Regions from separate parts of the Homo sapiens genome. Here region 2 is linked to region 1. The links are contacts of gene promoters, found by promoter capture Hi-C in blood cells and fetal thymus (Javierre and others, 2016). All regions are on one chromosome and are shown on one strand. Each heading gives the region's core, a stretch centred on a gene start or on the middle of the fragment in contact. The rest is flanking DNA. Distances are from core to core; before and after follow the strand shown. Region 1 holds the start of CYSLTR1 (cysteinyl leukotriene receptor 1). Region 2 has its middle 23 kb from the start of PBDC1.

Region 1 (7,890 bases), core at 2,786-5,285:
ACACAAAGACAACCCTTTGTAGAAACAAACACTGTTAATCTGAAATTTATGAGAAATCTTAAGAAGTCATATACTTTAGACATCTTGAAATGCTATTCAAAACTGGATTTTTCTTTCCCTTTTAGGGAAAAGGGATTGATGAAAAATAAAAGAATGCCCAAATGTCTCCTATTTTTTCTTTAGCTCAAGGACCTCAAGTCTAGATCTGAACTCCTGTTTCTTTTCTATCAGTTCCACATATGTAGGAGCTCAAATGTCTGGGTTGTATTGATTCTGAAAGCACTCTAAGCAAGATAATGACATTTTATTCATCAAAAGGAAAATCAACTATGTGTTAAATGTCCAAGGGCTTATGTTTACTCTTCTCTCTCTTTTCCTCTATTTCTATAAGGACCTCTTCCTAACTTATCCCCCAAATTTAAAGTATTTTTTTCTCTTTTCTTCCATATGAACCCACCACCCCAATCTAGAAGAAGGACTGTGGGGCACAGAGAAAGGAGAGGTCATGATGAGATGGAGTGGGATGAGACAGAATGAAGCAGCAGGATAGAAGAATTTATACAGTGGCCTTTTCTACTAATCCATAAAGAAATCTTAATTAAAGGCAAAAGTAATTGCCATCTGAGGGTGTTTTAGCACCTTGATTGTAACATGAATTAATGGACCTAAGATGTCTGGATTTATCTAATCAAATTAGATAAAGGAATGGCTTTCTTTATTGCCTTTTCTGTAGGGATGAGGATATGTACTTCTTGCTATGAGTCTATCAGACTTCTTAGCAGTTTTTTGTTTGTTTGTTTGTTTGTTTTTTGAGACGGAGTCTCGCTTTGTCGCCCGGCTTGAGTGCAGTGGCGCGATCTCGGCTCACTGCGACCTCCACCACCCGGGTTCAAGCGATTCTCCTGCCTCAGCCTCTCGAGTAGCTGGGACTACAGGCATGCCTCATGACACCCAGCTAATTTTTGTATTTTTAGTAGAGATGGGGTTTCACCATATTGGCCAGGATGGTCTCAATCTCTTGACCTTGTGATCTGCCCACCTCGGCCTCCCAAAGTGCTGGGATTACAGGCATGAGCCACCACACCCAGCCAACAGTTTTATTTCTGCACTGCAAAGCAACAAATTGGCATACTGACTAATCTATCTTTTGTAGGGTTGACTAATATAAATATATCTTTCAACAGTTTGTTCATATCTGATTGAACTGGGAAAGCTTTTCTCACTGACCCTTAAATCATACCACATAGATGTTCATGTGGCCTGAAACGCAAATAACACTGGAGTGAGAGATAAAAGTGACTTTAGGTCTTTCTATTTTAGACACACACACACACACACACACAACTAGACATACTTATATATTTTAAAAACGTGATTTGTATTATAACCAAATCTGTGATTGAACAAGTGGTTTTATGAAAGAGTAGTGGGATATTGTGTTGCATTCAAAACTTGCTGCAAAAAACTATTTTAATCCTTAGCATATAATCCTAAGAATCAATGGGCTTGGTTAAAGTAGTAACAACAAAAGGTGGATAGTGCTTTCACAGAAATACTTTTTAAATACTACTCTTAAATATTTTATTCCTTTTAGAGTTCACATTGAGGTGTGCATAAGTATTGTAGGGCTAGTGACAACTATAATCCAGAGTGTTTGATGCTACTGACAGGTCCTAAGAGTAGGATGAGGTTGCTGAGACTTAGAGTGATGTCCCTGACCTAGCAATATAGTCTAGGGAGTAGAAAGTAGCTAGCCCTACTGTCTCCCCATGCAGTCAGTTTTGTTATATGTTTATCCACCTGGAATGAATGGAATTTAAACAAAATCCTTCTGATGGTGGTTTGTATTTTCAAGTCGCTTTCAGATTTTATATTTATCATTTTAAGAGATTTAGAAAATATTCCTATCAGCTCATTACTGCATTAGATACACAAAGGAACCAAGAAATACTAATGGCTGTTAACTTGCCAGAGAACACCCAGTTGTTTACATGTCAAAACAAGGGTGAACTCCCAGTTATCCCAGTTACCCCGTTTCTCTCCCATTGAAATCCATGCAGCAAGATAGTTTAGAGCAGCCACTGTTAGGTGTTAGGAACATGAGAATAACAAAATGGACCAAAGTAGAGGTCCATACAGGGCAATGTTATTTGGGAGATTATGATAGTTACCATTCATAGTATTGAATTCACAAGGTTGGGTATGTACCTTAAGAATCAGCACCTTCCCTTTATTATCCTTTATTATTGGTCAATTATACTGAAAATACAAATTTATAATTTTCTATACTGTGGAAGAGTCTTGCTTTTATGACAGATAAATAGTTTCTAAATGCATCAAAATTTCATTAAGGGGAGGTAGTAGAAAATGAGAATTGATGATTCTTGATTAGGAATACACTAACATGCTAGATTAAGTCTAAAAGCAAATAGCAAACTTTTCTTAACCTACCATTATCTGTGTGCTTACTGGCTCCCAAACTGACTTATTTTATTTGGAGGAACCCTGATTGGCTGGTGTAGTCAATACTTAGGGGAACTGGGGAAAATTTTTTTATCATGGATGAATGTAAATATAGCACTTGAGGTTGTTTATGATGTAAAAACAGATAGCTTTTAGTTCTAATTGAGCCATTAATAGTAAAACAACAACAGAAAACATTTCTGAATGATTAAGACTTCTGTAATAAAGTTAAAATTGTCTTGTAACAAATTTTCCTAATGTATTTTAAATGTAATACAGTCCTTTGTATTTTATAATGCATTGTAAAAATATAAATATTTTTGTTTTTAAAACAGTGTACAATCTAGTCCAGATTTAGTTACAATTTCTTTTAAAATAATCATTTGTTAGACATATGGTATCATAGTTTCTCTCTAGGTTTCAAAATAATCAGAATACTGGAAAGCAGAACCACTGAATTCAGTAGGTGGAACTTACAAACCCATTTGTTTCCTCTTGAAAACAGCCTTTTTTGTCGCTAAGTAGAAAAATGTTCCTGGCTAAAGATTTTATTAAAATGTATGAATCTTTGGCTCTGTGTAAACTTAGTCTACACCAGATGTGTCTGAGTTACTAAATAGATCATGCAATTTTCTTCTATTCATTTATAGTTGAGAGAGCTTTATTTTTACAGTCTCTGGCCAGAACTGGCCATTTTCTAGTTGTACGGTGTGTTTCAAGAAAATTTTTTAGCCTCTCTGAGTCAATTTTCTCATTCATAAACATGGACAGTAACACCTACCTTGTCTAAATTATAGGATGTTGAAAGGTTCAGGTGGGATAACAAATGTGAAACTACCTTGTGAAAATTTTACTCTCCACTGGTTTACCTTCAGTAATTACTACATATTTATTTTCCATATTGAAGGAAAATGTCACTACATTAGAGAAACTCCACTGAACCCTCAAAATGGGGATTTGAAAATGTATCTTACATTTCTGGCTTAAATTACAAAGGCACAGGAGGTTTGCGGAGTGTGTCTCCTCTGTATTTTGCCACGTTGAGCCCTAGCAGAAGCACTGAGCAATATTTGTTGACAGACTGATCATATTATCAGATTTCTGGCTAAGAAATAAAGCAGAAAGAATTCATACTAGCACCCAAACTTAAAGCAGGCAAGGCAGATAACTTATCCCCAAACTCCTGGGAATTTGCTAAAATTTACCATCAGCAACATTTTACTACATACTGTTCTGGTCTTAGTACTGAATACTGAGTCTCCTTACCTGCTAACTTCAAGGTCCACAGTTTACTGTCCTTTTGCGTTTGTTCTCAGAAGCAAGCTCCAAGTCTTCAGTAAATTCGATCTACCAGTCCTTGCAATTAATCCTTGTTGGCGAGCTGCACAGTATCTTGATACCCTGTAGGGTCGTAAAAGCACAGTCCATTCACAGAGTGCCTGCTCTATAGGCAAGCTTCTTTGCAAAGATGGGTTGCTGCTATTTTTAAGAGGGGAGAGAGCAGGGCACATTTGCTAGCCAATATATACAGATATACAGATTCTTCTTCCTCTTTCAGATTAGCCTTCAAACTGTTAAAGCACTCCCGGAGTCTGACTTCTCTGGTGCAAAGTGGGGGAGGGGAAGGGTCAAAGAGGAAGGAAGAATAGAAACTGGAGACTTGCAGGTTGCGTGTATGTATAAATAAACTTTTCTTCCTAGCTTCAGGAATAGAATTCTCAGGAAATTATTCAGCTGCTCTAAGATGGGAAGCAGGGACGAGTGTTCTCTCTTCAGCTTAGTTCTCTGTGATTTCTGTGACTGTGAGGTCATTAGACTATTTGTAGGTGGGGAAAGATAATCCTGCCAGTATATGCTAATATAACTGGCATTATGTGAAACTTGATCTTAAGTAACATAAATTTCATCTCTCCGTTTCTCTCTCTCTCTCCTTAATGACACTTGTGGCTCTATCCACATTCTAAAAAGCCTTTTCCTTTCTGGTTCCTTTTTGAGCTTTGTTTCCTGAAATCTTCATAACAATAAATTGCCTCCATTGGATTAAAACTGTTGTTTTCTTTTTTTGTCCCACTGAAGATGATCTGGAATGACTGGGCTTGCTGTCAATGGTCCTGTGTTGGAAATTTGGGGGATCAGGCAAGTGTTCTTGGCCTTTGGCTAGGCTCTGAGGTGTTAGAGCTGTGGGGTGCTCAATATGGCTTCTGGAGAAAAGGGACATAGCAGTCTGGTATGTGCTGATTGAAGCCTGGGGCAGCACTTTGATGTTAAAAACCAAATTGGTAAGATCATGATGTGAATTTGTTACATCAATTATCTTGAGTTATATTAAGAAGATTCTATATGGAGATGGGCATAAATATGTTGATGTTAACACTTTGTAAACATGCCCCATAACTAACAACTAGTTTTAGGTACTTGTAAAATATGAGCCCAGCAGTAGCCTTCTGGCTTGCTACCTGCTGTAGGAACAAAGTCATTTACTCAAATTTTGTATCTTTAGGTACAAGAATTACCTCACAACCAACCTGGGACAATCGCTTTAAGGCCCTTGAATCTTTATCTCTTTTCACAGAGTTCTGGATTGTGGTGGTGATGGTGATAGTTGGAGGAAAAGGCTATCCAACCACATTTGAAGGGATGTTAACATTTGGATTCAAGACTAGACTTTCTAATCCTCTCCTAGGGAGTTTTAGTAACTAAACTGACATTCAAACTAGTATTTCTTCAACTGAGTTTGGATCCCCAAATATCTACAGGAAAATTTATAAGTGAGACACAGAGTGAATTATCACTTTTCCTCCAGTCTGAAATGTTACAGCCATTTTGAGCTACAGTGGAAGGGCAATTCATACTCAGGAAATGAAGAAAAGAGAAAGGAGCTAGATCCTTTGTGGGGATAAGAGAGATCAGATTGTTACTGTGTCTATGTAGAAAAGGAAGACACAAGAAATTCCATTTTGATCTGTACCAGGAAAAATTGTTTCTGCTTTGATACCATACCCCAGCACAACACCCGTAAAGGGTCTCTGCTGAGGAGGAGTAGTGAAAGAGGGAGGTCTCTTTGCAGTTGAGATAAGAGGAAGGCTTCTGTCTCCTGCTCCTCCCTGGGAATGGAATGTCTCCTGTAAAGCCAACCATTCCCATTCTTTCTATTCTGAGATAGGATAAAACCGCCCTGTGGCTAGAGGCGAGATATGCTGGCAGAAATACTGCTCTGTTACTCTTTGCTACACTGAGGTGTTTGTATAAAGTGAAACATAAATCTGGCCTACATGCACATCCAGGCACAGTACCTTTCCTTGAATTTATGCATGATACAGATCCTTTGCTCACGTTTTCCTGCTGACCTTCTCCCCACCTGTTGCTCTGCTACACTCCCCTTGCCAAGATAGTAAAAATAATGATCAATAAATACTGAGGGAACTCAGAGACCAGCGCTGGTGCAGGTCCTCACATGCTGAGGCTGCCGGTCCCCTGGGCCCACTGTTCTTTCTCTATACTTTGTCTCTGTGTCATTTCTTTTCTCAGTCTCTCGTACCACCTGATGAGAAATACCCACAGGCGTGGAGGGGCAGGCCCCCTTCAATCCTTGAGCTTCAAGTTGGCACCGAAATAGCTGTGGCAGAGAGGGTGTTTCCTGTGGTTCTTCTTTGTGCTCCCCTACCTGTTTCTTTCATTAGCTAATTTTCTGTTCTTGAGCAATGGGGAAGGCAGTGATTCACCCATTCCCAAATGGGTCTTTGCCTTGTACAGCTGGATCAATTTACACCACATTTGCTATAAATGACATCAGACTCCTTGTCTCCTTGCTTCATCTCTTTATCTTTTCTCTTCCCATCCATCCATCTTCATTACATATCTACTCTCACATTCTCTTTCACTTTAGGAAAGGTTGAAGTGCCCAGAATGATACCTGTCTGCTGCTGTCTCTCTACTCTTGCTCATTTTCCCAGACTCCTTCAGTTCTTACTTTCTTATTGAGGTAAGGAAGACCAAATAGGGAGTGGTGAGGGAGAGGGGGGATAACATGTAGTTGGATGGGAAATCTGTCTCAATGAAGTAAGACTTGGGTAGCAAGATAAAGAATTTTCAGTCACAACAGCGTTCACACGTAAGTGACAGGATTCATAGCTTATGTGGACTCAGAGCTGAAAGAGGTAATGAAAAATCATCATCTGGTTCAGACTTTATATTAAATTGAATTTGTGAGGGTATGACATGTCTGATTCATCATTGTGTCCTCAGCTGTTAGCTCATTGCCTTGTTTGGTTTGTTGAATAAATAAATCTAGTCCAACCCTTTCATATTATAGATGAAAAAGCAGGCTAGAAAGAGGCTCTCTCAAGATGCCATTATTTTACCACAAAATCAAAAATAGTAATTTTTCTTTCTCCAGGACTGAAATTTTTTCACAGCCAATACTAATTGCACTTTGGAAGGGTAAAGAGCATGACTATACTCAAAGCCCAGCTCTATACAGACATATATGCTTGTTAAATTAAGTTTAGCCTAAAGCTGTCTCCTGGAAATATTTTAAGTTCAGCCTAAAGATTTCTCTGTACATAGTGAACTAAAACCTAACTAGAAGTATAAACAGACTGTAACCTACTCTTGTACCAGTCATCAAGATTGACCAAACGAAGGTAACCACCTGTTCCAACTATGTTCAAATAAGGAAAATGCCAAGCTGTAACCAATCCAGCTGTTTCTGTATTTCACTTTGACTTGCTGTACATCACTTTCCTTTTTCTATCTATAAATCTTCAACCATACCTCAGCACTGGAGCCTCTCTGAACCTTTTCTGGTTTGGAAACTGCCTGATTCACAAATTGTTCTTTGCTCAATTAAACTCTGTTAACTTTAATTTGTCTAAGGATTTTCTTTTATCACATTCATTCACAGAGACTAGAATAGCCATGATTCAACTTTTAGTTCCAGCTTATAGAAACACGGAGACAATGAAAAAAATCAGGCTGGCTGTAGAAATATGGCTATTACAACTTTCCTTTTTCCTGCCCCAGGGCCTATTCCATGGGTATAAAACAACCCTGGATTGTCATTTTTAGTGAGGCAAGGGCCCTCTAACTGAGAGTGCTGGATGAGGTTGAATGAACCCTGTGAACAGAACAGCACAGACCACCTAGGAAGGATGGTACAGATCATCTAAATAATGTTACATTACTATGTACATTATTTTGTGCTGTCACCACTAGCCATGCACTAACCACTAGCCACACCTGGTTATTTAGATTTAACTGTAAATTAATAAAATAAATAAATAGTTCTGTATTTTAATTACACTAGCCACATTTCAGGCACTCAGTAGTATAGCCACATAGCCACATGTGAATGTGGCTACTGCATTGAACAGCACAAAGTTAGGACAGTTGTTAAAATTAATACCTAGCTTGGGGTAAAGAATATCA
Region 2 (7,890 bases), core at 4,019-6,518, 2.2 Mb before region 1:
TTATGAAACTGCGATAGTCATTTTATTTCCTTTTCAACCATTTTATAGCCTGTGAATTTCAGGTGTTTACCTAAGTAAAAGCCTTAAGATTAAATATATGGTTATTTTACTGAATAATTGGATATTTAGCGATTTTCATTAATCCAATATTAATTTTTTTATCAAAAATTATACAAGCAAAAATTCTGTTTTTGCCGGATTTATAGTTTTGTAACCCGCATGCCAAATTTTTTTTTTAATTATTAAAGGTTCAGGGTACATGTGCACAATGTGCAGGTTAGTTACATATGTGTATACATGTGCCATGCTGGTGTGCTGCACCCATTAACTCGTCATTTAGCATTAGGTATATCTCCTAATGCTGTCCCTCCCCCCTCCCCCCTTCCCCCACCCCACAACAGTCCCCAGAGTGTGATGTTCCCCTTCCTGTGTCCATGTGTTCTCATTGTTCAATTCCCATCTATGAGTGAGAACATGCGGTGTTTGGTTTTTTGTCCTTGCGATAGTTTACTGAGAATGATGATTTCCAATTTCATCCATGTCCCTACAAAGGACATGAACTCATCATTTTTTATGGTTGCATGGTATTCCATGGTGTATATGTGCCACATTTTGATAAGTATGAAATTGCTTGATTAATAAATGCAAAAATGTATGCTGGCAATTTTTAAGAAATTTCTGTTATTAGTTTACCAATAATTTTTAAGCAAGCATATGACAGATTTTACTTAAGTCATATAAAGATGAAAAGCATTTGGGCTAATTAATTTATGAGTACTTGTTAAGCCAGTGTGGTACCTTGTGGCCCAAAACACAACAAAATACGTGTACATACATATAAACACACACATACACACTTACACAGCTGTTCCCGGTCCAAACTGAGGGTCAGCCTACTTATTCCTGCTACCCGGTAATGAGATGCAGATGAACTGGGAAAGAAGAGAGTTTATATAAGCTCAGAAAACTTTGTAATTTTTACTTGGTCTGCCAATATTTTCGAGGCCTTCTCCCTGTGGAGAGACTGTCGTCAGACCAACTCAAAATTACAAAGTTTTCCAAAGCTTATATACCTTTTAAGCTATATGTTTACATATAACTTTGCATTCATCTAAAGACATAAGTTATTAACTTCTTTTAATCTACAACTAAGTTCTCAGTTTTGAAGACCTTCCTCTGGAGCCTCAGTAAATTTACTTAATCTAGATGGGTCCAGGTGCTTGGGGTGATTACCCTTATCTTGTCTGCTGTAAATCCATAGAGGTTTTAGAAGTTCCTTTAGACCACCAGTAAAACTTGTTTGTGGAGGTCTGGGGAGTTTCTTCAGACCTCCAATAAAAACTTGTTTAATCCCAAAGGGGTCCTGTTAAGAATTCCTTTATCTTGTCATGCTTCAAGGCCCAGGAGGACATAGGCAAAATTCTTGGTGGGCTTTTGTTAAATCCCAGCCTTTGTATAAGGGCACTGGCTCTTTCAGCTTTTAATATTTAACCAGTCAGTGCTGAAACAGTTGTTAAGGAGGCCTCCCTGTTCAGCTGTGAGACCTGCCCTGCCACACAACCAAAAATCCTATAGCTTTTACTTCAGAACTCTAGTCATGAGATATTAATACAAACTCATTGGTTTACAAAAACAATAACAAAATGAAATGGATGGATGCAAATGGTGGATTTTATCTCAGTAGAAATGTAACAGCAGACTTAATGCAGGCAAAAAAGAAAGCAGAGCCATACACAGAGAACTTAGGAACTTTATACTCACAGGTGGACCTTTGCGATCTGAATTTTCCTTGCCGTAATTGTGCAGAAAAGGACCACAGTATGTCAATTTTACACAAACATTCGCAAGAAGAGGCGCCATAAAACCAACAGAGTGCCTGAAAGGAGGTCATTCCTGTTTTTCCTCTTTCTTAGATTTATTTTTTGAAGGAAGGAACTTAGCTGTGGCCTAAGGTTTCAGTGGAGTGGGTCCAAGTATCCGGGTTGTGGGCAGGACTCCACAGTGTGTCACCACAGAGTAATTTCCACCTTATGTGTCTCATTTTCTCTCTCTGGAGGTCTAGCACCTATGGGAGGGTCAAAGCAAAGTGATCAGCTCTAATAGGCATTTCCTGGATGAGCTTTTTAAAACTATTTTGTTGTAGGTTCCCTGTAGGGCTGCTGGTTGTCACGGGGGTCAACACCCCCAGACACTCCCACTGGGCTCCAAGTCACCCAGGGGTGCCTTTCTGCTGGGAAGAGCAAAATGCCCTTTCCCTTTGGAGGTCAGGAAACAGTCTCTCATGTATCTATGAAAACAACAGTACAGCTCTTCACGCAGATGCACACACAAAACAACAAGATTAATTTGGGGAGGAAAAGCAATGGAGAAGACACTGTAGAATGCATCTCCAAATTAGAATTCGGATCCTAAACAATAACTTCCTAAGAGGGGAAAAAAGAGAGGGGCAGCTATGACCATTTCCTGTAAACTGTCTTCAGCCACTTGTAATTTTGTAGCTCTCATCTACCATTACACACGCCAAGGTCAAATCCTCTCACAGCACAAGATCCTTCCCCGACCGAACCACTTTACATCTTACATAAAATGATTGATGTTTCATGTCTCACTAAAATGTATGGAAGCAGGCTGTGCCCTGACCACCTTGGGCACGTGTCGTCAGGACCTCCTGAGGCTGTCATGGGCGGGTCCTTAACGTTGGCAAAATAAACTTTCTAAATTGACTGAGACACCTCTCAGATATCAGGGGTTCACAGCCCTATGGAAAAAAAAAAAAAAAAAAAGGCATATGTCAGAAAGTTTACAAGCAGGCTAGTCAACAAAGAATCTCACGTTAAAAATATTTTTTGTCGCTCTTCTGTCCATCAGATTGGCACAGAGATTTCAGAAAAGAAAAAGCGGGAGTTAGTAGGCCACCCTAAAAGCTGTGCCTCTACAGCGGAAAGAAACTTTGTTTTGACTCTGAGGAACGGCGCTTTTTTTCTAAACGCGAAGGGCGGGGTAAGAGCAGAGCTGCACGCATCTGTGAATACATACTGCCACCAAACGGGCATAATTTCACCGCGACGGAGAAAGTCTGGGAGGACGTTCTCTTTGCGGCCCAATTTCTGCTCTTTAGATCTGGAGCAGTCCACTGAGGGACCTGAACAAGATAAACGGGAAGGGAAAAGCGCCAGAAGTTCGAGCAGAGAACCCACCGGGCAGCCGGTGGGGGTGCCCCGGAAGTCGATTTGCAACTGGGAGGCGGGCGGTCTGCCGAAGTGCTGCCCCGGAAGCCATAGCAGTAGCAGAAGGACGTTCCCGCCCCGCTCCTTCCCCCGGCCCTCCCCCCGCCAGCCCTCCCCCAGCACCCCCCCCACCACCACGTTCCACCGCCTCTTCGGGGAGGCGGGAGCGCCGTGCCTGATGGGAGGTGTGGGCGTGTTGATCATGGGTGTAGGGAATTCGGCTGTCTCCTTTCTACCCGCCGCCCGAGTTTATTTTGTGCACGGTTTCTTTTGTAGCGGACGTTACTGGGAGGAATGAGGGCGAGGAAGAGAAAGACGTTAGTCCTCGGACCGTTTCCGAGAGTCATCTCCGGGAGTAATGCGAAGATGGACACGCTCAGTCCTGCCTGTGCATGCGCGTTCGCGTTGTACGGAATTCCCAAGCCAGCTGCGTAGTTTCTGCCTTGAAGCTATTTGGCGAGAAGTTTCGCCTGTTCCTTTACTTTGTGGGTCAGGGCTTGGGTGCTTGAGTGGGAGAAACAGAAAGCCAGCTAGCCCTGGAACCCCTTCTAAGATCGTCATCCACCCAGCCATCCATAAATCTGTTCATCCATGAAACAAATAATCATTGAGCACCCCTTATATGCCAGACACACGTAAGGATGCAAGGGCCGCGTTCTCATTCTAGTGGGTGGGGACAGAGAGTAAACAAATTATCTACTTAATTTCAGATAGTGGTAAGTGATAGAAAATAAAACGGGGTGATATTGTCAGAGGCGTTTGAACCAGAGCGACTCCATTCCGAGTGAGGGCTAGGAAAATGAAGCTGAGGCTTGCTGGGCTGCATTCCCAGAAAGTTAGGTATTCCCAGCCTCTAGATGTTTACGGTTAAGGGAACAAATTAATAACGTTTACTAAACAGACCCAGACTTGGGAGTGTCCAGATATTCCGATATCTGGAGAAGAAAGGCATTCCTAATTTTGCCTTAAAGATAACAACACTGATTCTTGCAAAACATAGTAATTAAGAAAATTAATCCTCTATCACAAACCCTTGTAGCAGAGCACATCTCCTCATATAACAAGCATTGTACCTAGGGTGGACGCATTCCTCCTCTTACTTTTGGGAACGTCCTACTCTGTCTATGGAGTAGCTGCCCTTTCACCACTGTGCTTTCTCAATAAACTTGCTTTTGCTTTGCACTGTGAACTCGCCCTGAATTATTTCTTGCGCGAGATCCAAGAACCCTCTCTTGGGGTCTGGATCAAGACCCCTTTCCTGTAACAATATGACAAAGAAATGCGGTGGATGTTATACCCATTTATACTTGGTGGTCAGACTCGGCTTCTTTCAAAAATGACAGTTGAAGACATTAGGAAGGGTCCTGTATGGCTTTGATGACCTTGATAAGGGTCAAGGCTTCTTCCTGGTTTTGCCTTGTCTCAGGCTTATTAACAGAGACTTAGATCACCACAAAATATTGATAGGTCTGCTGCTTCATTCCCTGCAGTTGCTCCTATACTCTGAAAACTAGCATCAGAGTACAAAATTCTAATAGAAGGACTAAGCGGGGTCAGGAAGTGCCAGCGCTCCAGCGTGAAAAACAAAAGCTGTTAGGTTAGGGCCTTGAGCACTTAGGTTAAAGGCCTTTTTCCACTGACCCCCCCAGGAGCCCAGAGGGATGGGGAAGTCTGGTTTCCTTCTTCTTTGTGGCCTGCCTTCCCTCTGGCCTCCTTGTTCTATGGGTCCTGGGATCTTATCCTTCTGGATTAGGTCATTATGGGGCTTTGCTTTGCTGTAATGGAGCAGCGTGTCACAGACAGACCTCTAGTGCTATCAATGGAAAGCCAGTGGAATTTTAATTCTGAATAAGTGTTTGGAATGGGCCCACGGTGCAGTATCTCCTATGCGGTTTTGGAGGCCTTGTAGAATTGGCACAAGTGACCAGGGCTGTGATAGTTTAAGGAATTCTATGTCTCAGCATGAAGTTAAAACCATGATGACAACGGTGTATAAAACAGTGGGGCTTACTGGTTTCCCTTTTCATCCTCTGAGTGTCCTTTCTGGCCTGTTTCTCACTTTCAGATTTGGGCCCAATTACCTAATTGTGTGAGCTCTATCTCTCTGAGCAAAACTGAAAGTGCAGTTGTGCATAAGGCGGAAGTCCGGGTGGATTGTGTTCTATCCTATTATGTATTAGGCCTATCCGCCTCTTCAGCATGACTGAAGAAATAAGCGTAAACACTGACAACTTATTTCCTCACTCGGATCTCTCCACGCCACCCTCACCAGCAAGGGGAAACCTGTGTTCAGAGGTGGGAAAGGCTAGCAAAAGCCACAGTTTTCTGGCTGGATCATAAAGAATGAACATTGTCTGATCTGGAAACACCCAGGGTCCCTATCCATTTAAACCAAAACATCTTTCTGCCAGGTTTGTAGTCCAAATCTTCCAACTACTCATTTCTCTCAAGCCTTCGTCTCCGTTCACCCTTCTATTTCACAACTTATTTTCTCTCTGCAAGCCTCCAACACTGCCTCCCGACTCCTCACATTCAGCCTCTGACCTTCCTTTCTAATTCGCTGAGAAAATTGCCTGAGAGTCAACCCAAATTAACAAGTCAAAAATCGAACTCTCCCATCTTCCCCTAGAAACCTCCTCCCACTGCAGCGTCCCCCCTCGCCCCACCCCTCACAGTTAAGGCCACTCTTATCCTTCCAATTGTTCATGCTATAGACTTGAGGGTGATCCTTCACGCCACTGTTTTACTCACCCCTCATTTCCATCTGTGAAGAAATCCTTTGAGCTCTCTTGTCAAAATAGATCCAGAATCTGACATCTGACGATGGGAGACATTCATCTCAGGGAAAAGCATAGGTGCCCCTTCTGAGCAGTTTGTCAGATTCGATCTCAGGGATACTGTTGAGTCCTGCAGAGGATCGTGTTTCCCTCTTTACATTTTGGCAGCTAGAAAACTTAAATCCACATCTGTGGCCAACTAGTGCTCAATGGCTTGCTCTTTGTGTTCAAGTTCGTCATCTGACTGGACTTCCTCATTTTAATTTGGACTTCATTTCTTCATCCAATATGTTTTTCAGAAGTTTGAATTCTCTGTATTGATGTGTTTTGTGAGCTGTGTATCTCCTCCGGTCCCAGCCCAGCAATGGCTTCTGATCTCACTCAGAGTAAAAGCCCAGTCCTTGTCCGGTAAGAGCCAACAGGATTTAATCTCTGGTTAACTCTCTGGCTTCCCCTCCAACATGTTGTCCTCTCTTCTGCCCTCACTCTGCCAGAGCCAAACTGGAATCAGCTTATACTTTTAATAACATCTTCTGTTTCTGGGGTGATTGAGCTACATCATACATGACCACGGCCACAGGTCTTTTCTTAAATCTTGTTCTTGATGGCAAGATATGACGGCTGTCTACGTTTGTTTGTTCGTCCCTTGTGCATGCCAGTGTTTGACCAAAGCATATCTGCCAACCTTATCCTGGAGTAGCATGTATATTGGTGCACTTTCCACTAGCAGCAACACTGGCATACCTGTCTAATGCTAAATTCTTGTTATGTAGCCCACCATTTGAGAAGAAAAATGCAATCACTTGTCCCAGTTGAGCCCATTAGATTGGTGATGACAAGTGCCTTTCATCTTAGCATATTTATATTGCCTGCTGGAAAAAAAAATGTGTTAAACTACCTACCGGTAGCCATTCATCTCTGCTTTTCTCTTTGCATCTGATTCCAACACACTTTCATGTTACATGTAGTTAGACACACATGAGAGGGGCAGGAGAGTCCTTTTCCCCAACACCCACCGGGAATGTCACGTGATCGGGTGATGGTTCAACAATTATCACATTGCCTGTCTAAAAATGGTACTTTGGCACCTGGAGTCAGGGAGAGATAATCTCCTGCTGATCTACAGCTGTTAACATTAACGTGGTTAACTGAATGCCAGGTAGAAACAAAAAGAGCTTCCAATAAAATCAAGTATTGTGGGACTGAGCTCAAGCATTGTGGGAGTGAGCTCAAGCATGTGAATTAAGACACAAAATGACGGAGTATGACCTTCCTATTGACACTTCACCAGAAAAGTGAAGAAAGCCTCAGGCGGGAATCCATACAACTTCCTAAACCCACTGTGCATGCTCACCTCCCAAGGGTAAGGAGGGTACTGTGCATGGGGCAGCACAGTACCCATGGGAAGAATCATGGGAAATGAGCCAGTCTATGAAGTTCCAGGATCAAGGTTAAACACCACACTTGAGCTTCATATGCCCGCTTGGGCCTCTTCCAAGTGTACTTTCTTTTATGTTCTAAACGCTTTTTAAATAAATTTCCACTCCTGCTCTGAAACTTGCCTCGGTCTCTTTTTCTGCCTTCTGCCTCTCAGTGGAATTCTTTCTTCTGAGAAGGCAAGAATTAAGGTTGCTGCAGACCCGTGTCTGGATTCGCTGCTGGTGGTAGCTCAGATACCTTACCCCGGTCACATTCACAGTCCCTTTCTCCTGACTAACCTGTTTTGACTGTTTACTCCCTATTTGTAATATCTCCAGCAACCTAATCTGGGTTTTAGAAATGGAGTATTAAATATACCAATGGCTATATTTTCAGGGGCATTGTGACATTTCTAAGACATCACTATCTTGAAAAATCCAGCCTATTGACACCACACGTCTACAACT

Evidence for each region. Contacts are between HindIII fragments. The CHiCAGO score rates a contact against its expected background, and 5 or more counts as called.
Region 2: a contact is called between a fragment that was not itself captured here and the fragment with the promoter of CYSLTR1 in region 1, in 1 of 17 cell types (M0 macrophages). The highest score is 6.2, in M0 macrophages.

The regions. Positions count from the first base shown.
Region 1 is chrX:78,323,576-78,331,465 of GRCh38, forward strand. CYSLTR1 (cysteinyl leukotriene receptor 1) reads right to left here and starts at 4,036. Exons shown (of 3, transcript NM_006639.4): 1 at 3,730-4,036. RefSeq lists an enhancer at 4,208-4,257. The HindIII fragment of the contact is 10,496 bases long and covers 3,917-7,890 here.
Region 2 is chrX:76,146,392-76,154,281 of GRCh38, forward strand. No RefSeq gene overlaps it. Among named protein-coding and RNA genes, the nearest start is that of PBDC1, 23 kb to the right of the region's middle. RefSeq lists an enhancer at 2,056-2,590. The HindIII fragment of the contact is 8,412 bases long and covers 1,063-7,890 here.